2 separate regions of the Homo sapiens genome follow, and region 2 is linked to region 1. The links are contacts of gene promoters, found by promoter capture Hi-C in blood cells and fetal thymus (Javierre and others, 2016). All regions are on one chromosome and are shown on one strand. The core of a region is centred on a gene start or on the middle of the fragment in contact, and the rest is flanking DNA. Distances in the headings are between cores, read along the strand shown.

Region 1 (3,824 bases), core at 183-2,682:
TGTCTGCCGGCAGTGCGGGGTGGGGTTTGGGTGTTGTCCTCAGTACCCAGATCCAGATGTGGGCTGACGCCCGTTTTCATTCTCCAGGCTGCGAAGAGACGGGTAGGGGAAGCGCTTCCGGCCCCCCAGGCTGGGTGGAAAGCGACTGCAGGCTTACGGATCTCAGAAAGAGTGGAGAGCCCCTGCCACTTTATTCCATACCCCCTTGCGTTTTCGAACCCCTAAGGTCATCAACGACCCGGAAAGCCGGGAGGGGATCACCCACCCCACTTTCTGGGGAGTGCGTGCGTGGGCGGGGAGGCTTATCCAAGTAAAAGGGGGTGGGCAAAACGGAAAGGGTCACTTTGACGTACTGAGTCTCTGCGAAGGCCTCACCGTATGTGCCGGCAGCCGCGTGTCCTGGTCTCCGCCGGGTCACGACCTTCGGAGTTTCCGAGTGCGCCTCAGGCCTGGGACGCGCGGCGCTGTCTCCCCAGTCTCGGAGCCGTGTGCGCAGCGGCCGGCAGGGGGCACTCGCGTCACGGGGAGCCCGCCCGCCGCGCCCGCCTGGCTTGACCCGGGCTTTGGGGCTGACCCGGAGCCTGGCCCGGAGCTGCCTGCGGCCGCGGATGCCGGCGACATTTGGGGCCCGGCTAGGCACAGAGCAACTGGTCGCCAGGGAAGGGCGGGGGGGCGGCCTCCCAGCCGGAGACAAACAAGCAATTAATTCCGGAGCTGAGTTCCCATCTGCCAGGCCTGCTGACAACAGGTCCGGCGCACGCCCGCAGGACCTCCCGCTTCCCGGGCGGCACGGCGCGCACACCCACTTGCGGGCACACGCGCGGCTGTAAAGACACGTGCCGTTCGCAGACGCGCCGAGGCACAGATACGCCGGCGCGGTCGCTGCCCGGCTCGAGGCGCACACCGCGGCGACACTAACCCACGCGCGACAGTTAGACCTAAAGTGGCCCGCGACACGCAGAGTACGCTGGGCTTGCTGGAAAGGCGCCTGGGAGTCTCGGGGCCGGGGTCCCGCCCCTTCCTCGGCCCACCTCGCCGTGGGCCTTGGGCAAGAGCGTCCCCTCCGCAGCCTCAGTTTTCCCGCCTGTAGAGGGAGGGGCGTCGGCGCCTCCTGGGAGACGCGCAGCCCTGGTGTCCCGGGAGAGGGGCGGGAGGCGCATGCGCGCGCGCAACTAGATCCTCGCCGCCGCCCCCAGCGCCCCTCCCCGGGGCAGGGACTCACCTAACAGGTTGGGGTCCTTGGAGTGCGCGGGGCCGCGTGGGGAAGCGGGGACCCTACCCCCCCCACGCGCCGCCCAGCACTGGGCAAGGGCGGGGCACTCTCTGGGCTCCCGCCCCTCGCCGCCCGCCCCGGGAGCCCGAGCCCCGCCCTTCCCCGGCCCCGCCCTCGCCTCCCGAGCGCGCCCACCGGAGCCACCGCGCTCCTCGCGACACTCGCAGGCTCTGCGAACTTCCGAGCGGCTGGGCCGGGCCATGGGGGCGCCTCGGGGCCGGATCACGTAGCCGCGGCGCCCCCGGAGAGCCAGCGTGGCCGGGAGCGCCTGCCGGGCTCTTCCCGCGCCCCGGCCATGGTCGGCCGCGGCGTCCCTCTGTGCGCTGCGCAGCCCGCGGTACGCGCGGCCCGGCCTGGAGAGGGAGGCGGGCGGCGGGGGCCCGGGACGGCGAAGATACTCGCGGTGTGCGCTGGATCCCTGGGGGCCGGGCCTCCTGCTGAGGGTAGCGGACCCGCAGGCGGGACCTCCGGGGATGGAGGGAGTGGGTGAGCGCCAGGGTCGTGCCCAGGGCTCCTAACTTTGGCAAGAGCGTCACGCTGGGGCAGGGCGCGCAGGGGTCTGGATCCGACGGACGTCCCAGGCTCACTGTCCGCTTCCGCCCCCACACCCTGCAGGTGGCCGAGGGCGGCCCGGCCCGCGAGCCGCCGCCGCTGCTGGAGGTGTCCCCCCGAAAGAGGCTACCCGCCGGGCCCGACCAGGACCCATGCGGCAGCCGCCCTGCTCCCGAAGGCGCCGGGGCCGGCCCAGAGCAGGGCCACTCGGCCGGCGGAGGCGGCTGGTGCCGCCACTGCCACACGAAGCTGGTGGAGCTCAAGCGACAGGCGTGGAAGCTGGTCAGCGGGCCCGGGACCACCCTCCGGGTAAGTGACACTTCCTTAGGCCGACCCCTCCGAGCAGGGCCACGCCGAACTTGGGTAGAACTTGGGGCTTGGAGGGAAGCAGGGTTCCACTCCTTCCCTGCTGCTGTTTCCACAAAGAGTTATCAGCCAGGACTTCCCTTCTGCGGGCCTCAGTTTCCCGGTCTGTAACACCATGTGTGAGCTAGGGAGCTCAGCCCGAGGGGCCCTGCTGCCTCGGATGGGAGGGGCCTGGGCTGGCGTTCCTCCCCCAGCCCAGATGTCCCACAGCTGGAACGCAGGTTTGTGTGGGAGGAGGAGGGGAGAGAGCGGATGGCAGGGACTCCACCCAGGGCGGGACAGCTCCAGCCCTACCAGCAGGGAGAGGTTATTTGGTGCATTGTGGCCCTTGGGGCACCTGGGCCCCCAGCCAGGTGTCTGGAAATTACATACCTGGGGCCGGGGGGCCTGGCAGGTGAAAGGGTGGGCCACAGCAGCTGGGGGGTCCCTGCCTACTCCTCTCCCAGCCTCAAGGATAAGAACTGTTGTCCCATACCTCCTGGGATAGACTGAGGCAGTGGCCGCCCATGGGGAATTGAGTCGGGGCCCTCTGGGTTCCCCAGGCTCCAGCCCCAGGGGCAGGTGCTTGCAGGGGAGGGGTTCTCCTGGATTTCCAGCCAGTGGGCCTGCCGGCTTTGGAGGGAGCAGGGACCATTGTTCCAGGAACAATGCATGCTGGAAGTTTGCAAAGGCTGGGGGCGGGTGGGGGTCTCCAGAGGAAGCCCGCTGCCGGGCCTTCAGCCTTTATGAAAGAGTTCCTGGGAAGTCCGCATAATCCCCATTGAATCTAAATATAGTTCTCTAAGGGCTGTGGGGGTTGGAGTGAGCTGAGACCCTGACTGCCCTGTCTGGGGCAGGGCAGGGTGGGGCAGGGTACCAGTCTGGTTTCTGTCCTGGGCACCGTCTCCGGGCTCTCTGGAGTCTCGGCGAGGGATAGGATTGCTGTAGCCTCTCTCTGGCTCAGGCCAGGCGCCTGTGGGCCTGTCCTGGGGTGGGGCTGGACCCGCCCTGTCCTCTGCTCTGGACAGGCTGCAGCCTTGGCCATACTCTGTGCCCCAGTGGCCTGTATCTAGTTTAAAAGGTAGCAGGAGACCCTTGAGGGCCCCCTGGAGAGGGCCAGCCAGAGCTAAAGGCCCATCTTGCTGCCCCATTAGGGGAAACACGCCAGAGACAGGAGGGGCATTAAGATTGAGCTGGTCTCCTCATTCTTGGAGTGGGCTTGGACTGCTGATGCTGCCTGGCCCTGGGGCCATGGTCCTGGCATGGACTCGTGGAGGGGAGGGGGCTCCTGGTCACGGGCAGGCCAGGGGTCCTAGTGGAGAGGGCTGCAGGTGATACTAGTCCCTGGTGGATTCTAGGTTCCTCATCTAGGGGGGTGTCTTGGTCTCTTCTGGCAGACAGGTCTTCAGGGGAGCCCCAGACCACCCATCTCCAGCCTCCCCTGAGCTTGGCCTTTGACACTGGAAACTCCTCTTGAGTGCCAGCTGGGGGCTCCCCCTTCCCTAGCTGGCGCTGGCACTCAGCACACCGGGGTCCCGGGCTGGTCTCAGCCAGGGCTTTGTTCTGCTCTGGGCCCCCTTCTTCTGCTTTGTGGTCTCCTCTGTCACCTGGGGCCTGTTGTGAAGTGCTGTCCCACCTGCAGGGTGCTGTGCCC
Region 2 (3,900 bases), core at 626-3,125, 190 kb after region 1:
CCCATTGGCACCTGCTTGTCCATCCTTTTTTGTGGGTGGAGCTTCAGGAACAAGCTTTGCTCTGTTTCCCTGGGGTCCCTCTGGGGTCCAGGTCTCAGTGGCCCAGTGAGTCTCCACCACCCCTGCTGACACCAGGGAGCCCCTGGCCTGTACTGGCTCCCTGCCCCCTGCCCTGCCTTCTGGAACGTGTTGCCTCACTCAGCACCTGTGTCCTGTCTCACAACAGATTTTTTAAAATTGTGTTTTCTAAATGTTTTAATAGGGAGCTTTAAAAAAGACACAGAAGCAATGTAATGAGAGAGTGTGGTATCTGGATGCTCACATGCCCATCCCCCAGCTTCAATAATGAGCACCACCAGGCCCCCACTGGGTTATTTTAAAGCAAATTATTCCATATTTAAACTTTGGTCTTGGGACCCAGAAGAGTTCCTGCATAGATGTGGCCGATTCATGGCGCCTGTCTTCTTATGGCTCTGAGTGGCTCCAAACCTCTTTGCTGGTCTGGCTATGTATGTGTTGAAGAAATCAGTGTCTTTGCCTGTGGAACTTCCTGCCCTCTGCACGGTCGTTTGCGTCCATGCGGAGAGCCTCATGGTGCCCTTCACCCTGCACTTCTGCCCAGCAGTGCCACGAATCTGTGCTTAGCCCTGAGGCTGGGCTAAGCAGCCGCACACACCTGCTGTGTCACTGCACACACCCTTGGGATGGGGCTGCCGGCTGGGGCCACTAGCCTGGCTAAGCAGCCACACACACCTGCTGTGTCACTGCACACGCCACTGGGATGGGGCTGCCAGCTGGGGCCACTAGCCTGGCTAAGCAGCCACACACACCTGCTGTGTCACTGCACACGCCACTGGGATGGGGCTGCCGGCTGGGGCCACTAGCCTGGCTCCACCTTTATAAGGTTTCTCATGGGCTTCTCACCGTGGTGTGAGCAGCCACCAGGGGTGACGCTAGTCACCATTCTAACCCGCTGCAGCTACCTCCTGGCCTTCTTCCATTAGGGACATTTTCCTTGCCAATGATTTGATGACTTTGACAGACAGTTCACACAGAAAAGGCAGCCAACACCTGATCCTCACCCATGTAGCTCTGTCCACAGGGATGAGATGGTGCCGTGGTCCTTCCAAAGGGGCCGTGAGTTTTTTCTTCAGTGTTTTGTCCTTATGGTATCATTTAATTTGGTTTCAGTTCATTGCAGTCATACATGAGATGTATAAAGGTATAAATTGTATTCATTTCCTGGGGCTGTGTAACAAAGTGCCACAGACCAAATGACAGCTGTGTCTTGTCCCACAGCTCTGGAGGCTGGAAGCCCGAGGTCCAGGTGTCGGCAGGGCTGGCTCCTTCGTAGGCTGCGGGGGAGGCTCTGCTGTGGCCTGTCTCTGCGGCTTGCGATGGTCCTTCCTCACCATGTCTCTGCTCACAGTTATCCCCCTGTGCGTAGTTGGGCCGCAATCACTTCCTAAGAGGACATCAGTCAGATGGGATTAGGGCCCACCCTGAAGATTTCATTTTAACTTTATTGTGTCTTTAAAAATTTTCTCCAAACTATGGTCACATTCTGAGGTACTGGGGATGAGGACTTCAACATATGACTCTGGGAGACACAGTTTGGCCCCTAACGTAGACGTGGACTTTTGCGATGTGAATATCGTGCCATCCTCCTCTGGAGGGAGGCATCCTGGTTGCCTCCAGACTCTCTCGCTCAACCTGGTCATCCTGAGGGCTGTTTATTTTCCTGTATGACAAGATGTTCGAGATTCATCTTGCACATTTCCTGCTCCAGGTCTCACAGTGGCCATTTCTCTAGGCAGCCCTGTTTCCTTTAGTGGAAAATGGCATTTCATGGTCACAGTCGGGAGCTAAGGGGATTGCGGCTGCTAGGCAAGTCATTCCTTCTAAACCTTTCCTGTGGCCAAAGCTGAGAAATGCATTTATTTTTTGGGTTTTTTTGGCAAGAGAAAAATACATCATGAATTCATACTAATATTTCCCATTTAAATGTAAGATTACAGTGTTTGTGCAGCTTCTTTGATTTTTTAATTTCTATCTCTCTCCTCTTATGCTGAAAATCTTGGTTCCTAATGACATCTGCGTGATGACTTACCTGCTTTCTCTCACTGCACATGATCTGTGCGACTGTATTGGAACGTGGGGGAGCCAATTTGGCCATGAGATTTTTGCTCTGTCCCTGTCAAGAGGGAGAGTCTGTTTTCCCATGTTGTGCATCCGGACTGATCTTATTTGCTTTGTTCTGGAAGGTGCAGCAGACATGATGTGGTGTGACCTTGAAGGCAAGCCCTCAAGAGATCTTACAGTTCCTGTTTTCCACTCTCCAGGATCCTGAGACCGCCAGGCTATGAAGAAGGCTGTGATGAAAAGCTCTTTTATCCAGAGTGGGCCCAGCTTTTCCAGCTGCTCCAGCTGGGCCTGGTGCCTGGGCCTTCACCTGGCTGCAGGCAGGTGGGAAGCCCCTGTGAGGACAGCAAGGGAGCCGGTGTCGACCCCCATCATTGTGAGACGTATAAAGCATTGTTACTTGATGCCACCATGTTTCAGCATGTCTGTGGTGTAGCAAATAGAAAAGTGATTCAGACATTGGTACCACCAGTGGACTGGTGCCTTGACAAGCACCTGAGACATGTGACGTTGGCTTTGGGCCCAAGGGTGGGTAATGGCTGGGATGGGGAAAAGGGACCTTTGGAGGCTGGAGAAACAGTGACCTTTGTCACTTAGGAATAAGTGGCCAAACTGTCACCTATGGTAACTTGGAAGGTAAAAGATATACCTTATGAACGTGTAGGATCCGGTGGAAGGTCTTGCCTCTGGACAGAATGTCAAAAGTGCCCATCAGCTCCATCTCACACATGTGATAAGATACAGAAAGAAAGGTGAGCTGGGCCAGGTGCAGTGGCTCACGCCTGTAATCCCAGCACTTTGGGAGGCCGAGGTGGGCGGATCACGAGGTCAAGAGATCGAGACCATTCTGGCCAATATGGTGAAGCTCGTCTCTACGAAAAATACAAAAATTAGCTGGATGTGGTGGCACACGCCTGTAGTTCCAGCTACTTGGGAGGCTGAGGCAAGAGAATCGCTTGAACCTGGTTGGAGATTGTAATGAGCCGAGATTGCTCCACTGCCACTGCACTCCAGCCTGGTGACAGAGCAAGACTCAGTCTCAAAAAAAGAAAGAAAGAAAGAAAGAAAGAAAGAAAGAAAGAAAGAAAGAAAGAAAGAAAGACAAAGGTGAGCTGGAGAAGGGATCATTCAATCTGCAATCGGAACTTAAAGACAAAAGGCCCAGGACTAGCTTGTGTGGAAAATAAAACTGTCACTCATCCCCTTTCTCTCCAACTAGTAAAAATATGCAAAGTGAAATGAAGCCAGGGCCAAAGATCAAATTAAGGATGTATCTGTAAGATCCTTTGTTAAGGCTTTTGAAAGACTTATGGCAGTACCTAATAGGCCCTCTCAGCCACACAAAAGGGATTTTAAGAATCCAGGATTGTTCCATAACAGCCATACATGGCCCAAGACAGGGAAAGATCTGTCTCAAAAAATAATTATGCATGTGGCTTTTGAGATATGGTGTAAACTTCAATTAGATTCATAAGAAATCCACAAAGTTTTAAAGAGAGTTGTATTGGTAAAAACACTGTCAGCTTAGACCACAGAAGACGGTTTAAAATGAAAAGAAGCTTCTGGGAAGAAAAAGGTTGAGAAATTACTCAGCTACAAATGTGGGTCACTTCTTAAGGAAAAGAAAATAAAACTCAGAGGGTGTAGCCAAGAACAAAGGAGAACAATAAATTAGAAAACCACTCCCAAGGAGGAGAGCTGGACCTAATCAAGGAACATTCTTTGCCCTTGGAGTAGAGGACACTGGCTGTGTTTCAT

What was found. Contacts are between HindIII fragments. The CHiCAGO score rates a contact against its expected background, and 5 or more counts as called.
Region 2: a fragment that was not itself captured here is called in contact with the fragment with the promoter of KIF26A in region 1 in 1 of 17 cell types (endothelial precursors); the score reaches 5.5 in endothelial precursors.

What each region holds. Positions count from the first base shown.
Region 1 is chr14:104,137,155-104,140,978 of GRCh38, forward strand. It overlaps KIF26A (kinesin family member 26A), which reads left to right and starts at 1,433. Exons shown (of 15, transcript NM_015656.2): 1 at 1,433-1,610; 2 at 1,889-2,134. The coding sequence starts at 1,569. It overlaps KIF26A-DT (KIF26A divergent transcript), which reads right to left and starts at 1,475. Exons shown (of 3, transcript NR_158217.1): 1 at 376-1,475; 2 at 1-88. RefSeq lists enhancers at 1-23, 24-735 and a silencer at 432-601. The HindIII fragment of the contact is 14,398 bases long and covers 1-3,824 here.
Region 2 is chr14:104,326,335-104,330,234 of GRCh38, forward strand. No RefSeq gene overlaps it. Among named protein-coding and RNA genes, the nearest start is that of LINC02691, 100 kb to the left of the region's middle. The HindIII fragment of the contact is 3,647 bases long and covers 53-3,699 here.